3 separate regions of the Homo sapiens genome follow, and regions 2 and 3 are each linked to region 1. The links are contacts of gene promoters, found by promoter capture Hi-C in blood cells and fetal thymus (Javierre and others, 2016). All regions are on one chromosome and are shown on one strand. Each heading gives the region's core, a stretch centred on a gene start or on the middle of the fragment in contact. The rest is flanking DNA. Distances are from core to core; before and after follow the strand shown. Region 1 holds the start of WNT4 (Wnt family member 4). Region 2 has its middle 55 kb from the start of ZBTB40. Region 3 has its middle 51 kb from the start of MIR4418.

Region 1 (3,011 bases), core at 255-2,754:
TTCGGGCTGCCTTGGAGTCGTTTGCTCTCGGAACAGCTGGGAGAATTCCACATCACCTCCGTCCCCCAAGCCCTGGGTGGCTCTGACCCCAACGAACACACTCCTTCCAGCCTGGAGGGCTCTGGCTGGCCACAATGACCTCATAGCAACAGCCATTGGACACTCGGGGCAATTTCATGGGAGATATTTGTTCTTTGGTCTTGATGCAGAGAGAATTTTTTCCTCTCTCCCTGTCTCCATGGAAACCCCAGCTACACTGTTGGCGATCCCCCTTCCCACCCCATGCTTTTCAGATCAATATTGGAGCTTGGCTCCCCACTGGCTGCCCACAGCGGATGGTGGCAGAGCTCTGGGCAGGAGGAACTGGGGCCAGGGTTAAGCGCGGGGCATGGGGAACTGTCCCTGAGCGGGGATGAAAGGAGCGCGGGTCCGCTTGCTCCCTGTCCACCCACTCACTGGAGCTCATCCCTTTAGTCTCCCTCCCTGCAGCAAACCTTCCGCCCCTACCCAGGGAGCGCCCTGAGCGCAGATCCAGTCAAGGAGAAACAGACAGGTCACCAGCGGTTACCACCCCTTCCTCCTTAGGCTAGACACGGGGAGCTGGGGGGCCGTTGTCTTCTTTAAGGTCTGGACGGAGTTTCTTCCTGCCCCGGGGAAAAACCAAGGCCCGGCCAGCGCCAGCGCCAGCCCCGGGCCCTGGGAGACCAGGCGTCCTGGTCCCTTCCTTCTGTCTCCGGCTCCCGCCCCCCAAGCAGAAACAGGTCCCTGCACGCCTCCAGCCCAGCCCGCAGCGCGGCGCAGCTCGGCGCAGCTCGGCGCTGGGAGCTCGCTCCGGACTTCTCGGGATTAACCTGCTATTATGTCCCGGAGCCCTTCCCTGCAATGGGCTTCCTCAGCGACCTGTCAGCCCGGCTGGACTGCAACCCGCGTCCGGCGCCCCTCCCGGGCCACCGCCCCGCGCTCGCACCCCTGGCGCCCTCGAGAGCCCCGAGCCGCCTACCGGTGCGGACGCCGCCACAGCCACCCCTGACGCCTCTGGGCAGGGAGCCGGACCCGGGCAGGAGGGGACCCCGGGTGTGCAGAGGGACGTTCGGGCCGTGGCGGCGGCAGCGGAGCGAGCGAGCCTCCGGTCCCGCGGCCGAGACACCTGCCGGGCTGCCCCGCGCCCGCTGCCCCGCGCCGCCTGGCACCGGCCGCTGCCCCCGGGGCCTGCCCCGCCCCGCCCCGCCCCGCTCGGCCCCGGCCAGACTTACAGCCAGTTGCTCGCGGCGGCTGAGAAGACGGCGAAGACGAGGAGGCGCAGCGAACGCAGGCACGAGCGGGGACTCATGGTGCCGCCGCGGGCGCCCGGCCCGGGGCAGCGGCTGCGGCCGCGGGGGGCCTCCCGTCGGGGCTGCAGGTGGGCGCCCGCGGGCGGGCCGGGGCGCGCGCGGCGGGGCTCTGCCTCCGTGTGCCTGCCGGCAGCCTGCCCGCTGCTGCGCCCGCTGCCCGGCGCGGACCAGACTGTCAGCGCCGCCCCAGAGCCGGGATGCGGCGGCGGCGGCGGCGGCGGCGGCGGCGGAGGCGGGCGGGCGGGCGGGCGGCCGGGGGGGCGGGCCGGGGGCGGGCCGAGGATGGGGTTACCTGGGCGGGCCCAGCGGCCCGGGACACCCCCCCGGGGGCGGGCCGGAGCGGCGGCGGCTGCCGCCTTAGCCCGCGGGACTGGGCTGCTCCCGGGGCCTCCCCGGCTGGGCGCTCCGGAGGACTTGGGGCCCGAGCCCGCTCCAGGCACGCCTGGCTGCGCGCCGCCGAGCCCGGCCCGGCTAGAGGCGCGGCGACCCAGCTGCCCGGCCGCCGCCCGGGCCTAGGGGACAGGCGGGCACAGCTCCCCCAACCCGCCGCTGCGGGCACTGCAGCGCGGCCCTCGCTGTCCCCCTACCCCCCCCACCGCCCCCCGCCGGCGCCTGGAGCCCAGACCCCGGTCCGACCGCGGCGGACCCACCGGAGCGCGGCTACCACTCGCGCGCACCCAGGCGCTGGCGCTCCGGGTGCCTGGGGCTGCACATCGGGGCGCTGGATGTCTCCCGACCGCCCCCCGCCCGGCCCCTCCCTGCCTCCTGGCCCCCGCGTCCTGCGGCCCAGCCCCTCCCTGGCGCTCACCTCCCTACAGCCTTCCGGGAGCTGGACGGGGCCTCCCCAGCTTTGGGCAGCTTGGGACAGTGGCCCGAGACTGTGGGAATCCGAAACCTCGCTTCTGGCTAGCCACAAGGTCTGGGCGCGCCCCAGGCAGCAGGGTCTTGACTCTGAGCCTCCGTTTTCTCATCCGGGAAGTGGGCTTAAGACGCTGTGATTGGGAGGACAGGAGGAGTTTAGGGAAGCTCTCTTGGCTCACTCACCAAGTCTTACTTTGCATTTGGTTTTCTATGTGCTTGTTCGATTTATCCTCCCATACTAGGCAGATTCAGCCTCTTGTTTGTTTTGGGCACAGGGCGGTGCCTGCCATGTTTGTGGAAGGAATAAATGAATGGAATGGAATGGGCTGCAACAGCCTGTGCTTGGCTAGTCCAGAGAGCTCAATTCCACATCACTGTAACCCCTAAGAATTGTCTGCCCAAGTCCACGCCACACCCTCTCAGGTCACTGATCTGATTCTGTGTGCTACTCATCCTCCAGGCTGCATCCCCCAGCTGCTCACAGGTAGAGGGACCTCTTATCTAAACAGTAAAACTAAGGCCCGGAAAGGGAGGCACCTGTCCCACCTCCCTAGGGGTTGGGAACAGAGGCAAGGACCAGGTCTATGCCCTCACCCCCTGATCTTAGTTCTTCACTGATTTTGGAGTATGAAGTTTGCTCCCACAGAGGCCATCATGTTTGGGTGCTGGGATGGTGCCCTGGGGTCCCCTGGGCTCAGAACAGAGGAAGGGCTCAGTAAACATTTGGTATTGGGACTGGGTGGAACGTGGCAGGGATTTGTGGGGCTGGGCAAGAGTATAGATGGAGGTTCACATACCATATGTCCAAATATTTGCAGG
Region 2 (3,011 bases), core at 231-2,730, 250 kb after region 1:
CATTTAAAAATCACCTTCCTTATAGAAGAAATGTCATTATGTTCACAAAATCTAAAACACCCAAAGAGAAGATAAAGAATTCCACCCTTTCAGATATGTGACCTACATCAGTGTTTCTTAAACTTTTGTCTGTGTGGGGTGTGTGCGGGGGGTGTGTGTATGTGTATGTGTGTTTTATTAGAGACAGAGTCTAGCTCTGTCACTGGGGCTGAAGTGCAGTGGCATGATCATAGCTCACAGCAGCCTCAAACTCCTGGCCTCAAGTGATCCTCCCTCCTCAGCCTCCCAAAGTGTTGGGATTACAGGCGTGAGCCATCGTGCCCGGCCATTTCTTACACTTTAATAAGCACACGAATCACCTGGCAGGCCTGAGCATCTAACCAGTTCCCAGCTGATGCTAATGCTGTGTTTTCTCCATCCACACTTTGAGTAGGGAGAGTCTACACAACAGCAAATCAATGAGCATCTGGAAATTTGGAAGTTGCCAGGGGTTGGCTGGCTGTCATGGGGCTCCATTGCTTGTGGGTGTGCCACGGAAACATAAATCCCAGAAGAGAACTCTCATATCTCCGAAAGCTCCCATTTAATTCTCAATTGTTGGTCATTCTCCACCCCTCTTTCTGTCACCCTTCCCCCACATGCAATGCATCAGCAAACCCATCAGCTCCATCTTCAAAATATATCTGAAATCTGACCACATCTCGCCCTTCTGCACCACACTCCTTATGATGAAGTCCAAGCCACCATCACCTCTCATCTGCAAGATTACAACTGCCCCTTCCTGGGCTCCCCACTTGCATCCTCGCCTCGCTACAGTTCATCTTCCATACAGCAGCCAGAGGGATTTTTAAAAAGGAACATGAGATCTCTTTCTTACCTTGCTCAAATACGCCAGGAGAGCAAAACTTCAAGTCCTCACCGAGGCCTACGAGGCCCTATGGGATCTGGTTGTTCTGTCACTCTAACCTTACGTCCTACAACTTTCCCCTTTGCTCCTTTCACACCAACTGCACTGGCCCCCTTGCTGCTCCCCATACATGCCCAGCACATTTTTGCCTCAGGGCCTTTGCACTTGTTATACTCTCAGAGAGCCCCAGGGTTCACTCACTTTCTGAGCTCTGATCACTTTAAAATATGGCCTCTCAGAGAACCCATCTCTGACTATCCTGTCCAAAATTGTACTCCCTGCCCTGCCACTCTGTCCCCTGTCCTTGATGTTTTTTTCAAGCACTAATTACTTCCTGACATTGTGTTTTACATAATTTGGTTATGTGACCCTGCTCCCCGTAGAAAGTAGGCTGTCCGTGGACAGAGACTCTCTCTGTCTCGTTTCATCTCTGTGTCTATAGAGCATAGAACAGTGCCTGGCACATAGCAGGGGTTCAGTAAATATTTGCTGAATGAATGAATATTGTTTTGCATAGGATGTATTTGTACACACACCAGGGCTTTTCACCTAGATGATGTTCTTATTGAGGGAAAGCATTGTAAACCCCTAAAGCACTTCCCAAGGAGGCATCCAAATTGTCTTGAACAATTGCAGTTTTCTTGGTATAAACTGGAAATTGAATGTCCACAGCAAGTACACAGCATCCTTGCTTCCATTCTTCTCTTCTGCTCACATGACACACATTATTTATAGATCATGGTAAACAAGTTTTCCCCCAGTGAGGGTTTGAAATCTTGGACAGGTGAGGTGCTGGTGGGGCAGCCCTCATCACAGAAAGCACCCTGGCCATGGAGGTCTGGATATTTTCCCTTGACATGACTTGCAGCTGGAAAAGACCACAAATGTGACAGAGGACAGAATGCCCAGAGGGCTGGGACTAAGCAGCTGAAATTGACAAAAACGAAGTCCAAGCAAGGTCAATGTTGTCCTTCGTTCAACCTCCTGAAAAAACCAAGCATCACCATTTGCCCTGTGGAGATAATATAAAGTGTGGTAGAGATGCATGTCTCAAGCTCTTTTTCACAATCTTCTTTGTATTGGTGAAAACTGGAAACAGGAAGGTGTTGGAGCCAAATCTCATAGGTCTTCATGATGAACTACTAAAGGCAGATTCTCAACCTTGGCACTATCCACATTTAGGGCCAGTAATTTGTTGTTTTGGGGGCTGTTTTGTGTATCATAGGACGTTTAGTAGCCAGTAGCGATGCCCCTCACCCCACCCGTTGTAACAACCAAACATGTCTCCAGCCATTGCCAACTGTCCCCTGGGGGGCCGAATCGCCTCTGGCTGAGAACCATGACTGTTACTTCAAGAAGAATAATGCTTCTTAATACCATGGGAAATGCTTATGCTGTTAGGCTGAGTTAAGGAAAAAGGTGCAAAATGTGTTTTCAACTATATTCATATGAATATAAACAGTGACATAGAAGAAATTTAGGAAGAAATATGCCAAGACGTTAACAGTGATCTCTGGGTGGTGGAATGATGAAAGATTTTGCCTTACTTCTTTATTTTTGCTTTTATACGTTCCTTCATTTGTTCAACAAATATTTATTGAGCACCTACTACATGTCAGGTGTTGTTTTAGGACCTAGGGAGAAGCTGTGTAAGATAGACATTCCTGTGGCTGTGTACAAGACAGACATACCCATGAGGGGACAGGCATTATATAGGACTCTGCCCTCACAGAATTGATGATGTTCTATGGAAGGATACACATGAACCCCATAGCCTGTAAAGAACAATACTCTGGGGCTGGGCGCGGTGGCTCACACCTGTAATAGCACCTCGGGAGGCCGAGGCAGGTTGATCACTTGAGCCCAGGAGTTCAAGACCAGCCTGGGCAACATGGCAAAACCCTGTCTCTACTAAAAATATAAAAATTAGCCAGATGTGATAGTGCATGCCTGTAGTCCCAGCTACTGAGAAGGCTGAGGTGGGAGGATCACTTGAGCCCGGGAGATCGAGGCTGTAGTGAGCTGTGATCGCACCTCTGCACTCCAGCCTGGGTGACAGAGTGAGACCCTGTCTGGAAGGAAAAAACCAAACCAAACCAAACAC
Region 3 (3,011 bases), core at 356-2,855, 170 kb after region 1:
GGCTTCACTCCCCCCATGTCAGGCTTCTGACGCTGGTGCTGCTCTCCAGCCACCCAGAGCAGTCACTCCACTTCCTGGTCTGAGGGAAGCCCTGCGAGGCCCTGGGCACAGGAGTCAGAGGGGGAAGGACTTGGACTCCCCCGTCCCCGCCCCTCACAAGCCTTTGACCTTGGACGAGGCGTTAGCGCTGAACCTCACTTTCTCACTCTGTAAGATGGCCGTCATAACTGCATGCACTTCTTCAGACTGGTGTGACGCTTAAAGACTGCCTTTTCCCCAGGGGTCCCTAAAGGGAGTGGGGGTCCCTAAATGGAGGTGCAAGTCCCTCTGTGCTTGGATTTCCACTGTTCACTCCTGCAGGATGCTGGACAGTGGTCAACAAATGCTTTCTGGGGTGAAGGAGAGTCATTGGTGTCCAATTAATTGGAATAACACTAATACATCTTTATACATCTTTAATTCACCAGTTTATAAAACACAAACTGGGAATGAACAAGACCCCTGGAGAGAAAAAATGAATGAGAAGGTGGGGGCTGGGCTGTCTCCCACCCCCCGCCACCACCAGCCTTCTGTATGCATTTACCCTTTAGGTCCTCACAGCAGGAATGGGGCTGGGGTTGGATTGTTTTTAATTTCAATTTTTTGGTTACAAAATTAGTACATGCTTATTGGTTTAAAATTTTTCAGGCTGGGAGCTGCGGCTCACGCCTGTAATCCCAGCACTTTGGGAGGCTGAGGCGGGCTGATCATGAGGTCAGGAGATCGAGACAGCCTGGCCAAGATGGTGAAACCCTGTCTCTACTAAAGATACAAAAATTAGCCAGGTGTGGTGGTGTGTGCCTGTAATCCCAGCTACTCGGGAGGCTGAGGCAGAAGAATTGCTTGAACTCGGGAGGCAGAGGTTGCGTGAGCCAAGATGCCGAGATCACGCCACTGCACACCAGCCTGAATGACGGAGCAAGACTCCGTCTCAAAAAAAAAAAAAAAAAAAATTCAAAGAGTGTATAGAGTAGGAAATGAAAATCATCCACCTCTCCCTCTCCATGACCCTTCTACCACCTGTTTGGGGCATTTCCTTCCAAGCTTTTGCATGCATAGCGAACATATAAATAAAGGGGTTTGCTTTTGTTTTTGTTTTTAACAAACATGGGAACAGATTTGCCCTTTTAACTTAATATACCCTGGATGTCTTCCCTTATCAATGATCACAAGGTAGATATGATGGCCTCATGTTATTGACTAAAATGGCTGGGAGAGGTCAAGGCTTTTGCTCAAGATCACACACAGGTGAGTGGCAGAGCTGGGCCTGGGATCCGGGTCTGTCTGAATCTGGAGCAGCAGGCCTCTGTGCTGTGCGGAAACACAGTCATCAGCCGTTCTTAGCATCTCGGCACCTCCTGGTAAGAGGAACTTGTTTCTGGAGGTAGACAGCTGAGAGAGGCAGGAGATAGGGCAGAAACAGTGATTGTGGGGCTGGGAACATTGTTCCAGGACTAGGGGCCCAGCCAGGGAAGGCACAGCCCCCTGCAGGTCTGGGCGGGTAATGCAAAGGGGCCAGGAGGAAGGGGGCTGGGTGCTGGGACCTCTTAAGTGGCCCCTGTTGTCTCTGCCAGGCTCCCACCAGGCATACTCACCTTCTTTTTTTGAGACAGGGTCTCATCTGTCACCCAGGCTGGAGTGCAGTGGTGCAATCATAGCTCACTGCAGCCTTGAACTCCTGGGCTCAAACGATCCTCTGGCCTCGGCCTCCCAAAGTACTGAGGTAGACTGCAGGTGTGAGCCACCATCCTTGGACACTCACCTTCTTGATGCTATCTTTGCCCCTTGTCTATCTGAGCCAGCCTGAAGCTCTGAGCCCCCTCCAGTGGGCCTGGCTGGCCTGCAGCCTCTCTCCCATCCTGTCCATGGCTCAGCCGCTATGTGGGCAAAGTAGTCAGCGTTGCCTGCTTCCCACCCCGTATAGGCTCAGAGGCATTAGTCTGGCCTCTCTCTAAGGGATGCCGGGATTCCCTGGAGCACCCGGCAGGTGGTCATTCAACTTTTGTTTGGATGACTTCAGAGATGGGTAGCTCATTACCTTCCAAGGAAGCTGGTTCCATCTTGAATGACTACAATGGGTGGTGGGGAACAAGCTTGGGCCCTGAGGCAGAGCCAGGTGTGTGGGGAGACTGGAGGAGCTGATTGATGCATATAAGTCTGCTCCAGTTGTGTGTGAGAGGAGGGAGTCGGTGAGCCTCAGTTTCCCCCTCTGGCTTCCTTTGGATCAGTGTTGACCTAACTGCAGGTCACAAACTATGAATGAGTCATGACATTAATTTAGTGAGTTGTGACCAGCATTTTTAAAAAGGAATAGAACAGAATAAGATAGAAAATATCAGCATGCATTTCAAGAATTTAGAGGTATCTCTTTCTTGAGACTTTTGCTGTTGGCGTGGGGGCCGCATGCTGGTACAGTGGGCACAGAGGTGTCTTATGGGATGGGTGGGGGCAGGGGCCTCCAGCAGCTCTGAGGGTGGCCTGGAGGGGCCTCTTCCTGCCCACCCTGCACACGCATCCGAGTCCAAGCAGGGGCCCCAGGGGCGGTGGGAACAGGGAGACCCTCTCAGCTCTCCCCTGTGCATCTCGTGGGCTTGGAGTAGTCCCATAAATCGTCTGCCCGGAGTCAGGGGCATAGAACTCCCTGATTTATGCCCCGCCAGGTCCGCCCCCTCTGCCTCCCTCTCGGGCTTTGTGGGGCCAAGGCCTGGCAGGCTGCTGGCTCCAGACGGCCCCTGCGGTTGCCGTGGCGACAGGTTCAGGCTGGGCCATTATCCCGGCTCCCTCACCGCTTCCCGCCCTCAGGCAACCCTCCCTCCCTCGCTCGCATCAGGGCTGGCATTTGAACAGCACCGCGGGCTTCTTCTCCATAAGCCTGGCCCCTCCTGCAGGATGCCCCCCAAGTCCAGTGGGACCCATGCATCCCTGTCACAGTGAAGTGCAGACTTGGAACTCACTAAGGCAAGGAAGGGGTG

Evidence for each region. The method cuts DNA at HindIII sites, captures the fragments that hold promoters and counts their contacts. A CHiCAGO score of 5 or more calls a contact.
Region 2: a contact is called between a fragment that was not itself captured here and the fragment with the promoter of WNT4 in region 1, in 8 of 17 cell types (megakaryocytes, M2 macrophages, endothelial precursors and 5 more). The highest score is 8.8, in megakaryocytes.
Region 3: a fragment that was not itself captured here is called in contact with the fragment with the promoter of WNT4 in region 1 in 1 of 17 cell types (endothelial precursors); the score reaches 5.4 in endothelial precursors.

What each region holds. Positions count from the first base shown.
Region 1 is chr1:22,141,593-22,144,603 of GRCh38, forward strand. It overlaps WNT4 (Wnt family member 4), which reads right to left and starts at 1,505. Exons shown (of 5, transcript NM_030761.5): 1 at 1,254-1,505. The coding sequence starts at 1,330. All of the region lies in intron 1 of LOC105376845 (a long non-coding RNA gene), which reads left to right. RefSeq lists silencers at 973-1,032, 1,595-1,924. The HindIII fragment of the contact is 11,467 bases long and covers 1-3,011 here.
Region 2 is chr1:22,395,515-22,398,525 of GRCh38, forward strand. No RefSeq gene overlaps it. Among named protein-coding and RNA genes, the nearest start is that of ZBTB40, 55 kb to the right of the region's middle. The HindIII fragment of the contact is 4,522 bases long and covers 1-3,011 here.
Region 3 is chr1:22,315,937-22,318,947 of GRCh38, forward strand. No RefSeq gene overlaps it. Among named protein-coding and RNA genes, the nearest start is that of MIR4418, 51 kb to the left of the region's middle. The HindIII fragment of the contact is 1,049 bases long and covers 1,082-2,130 here.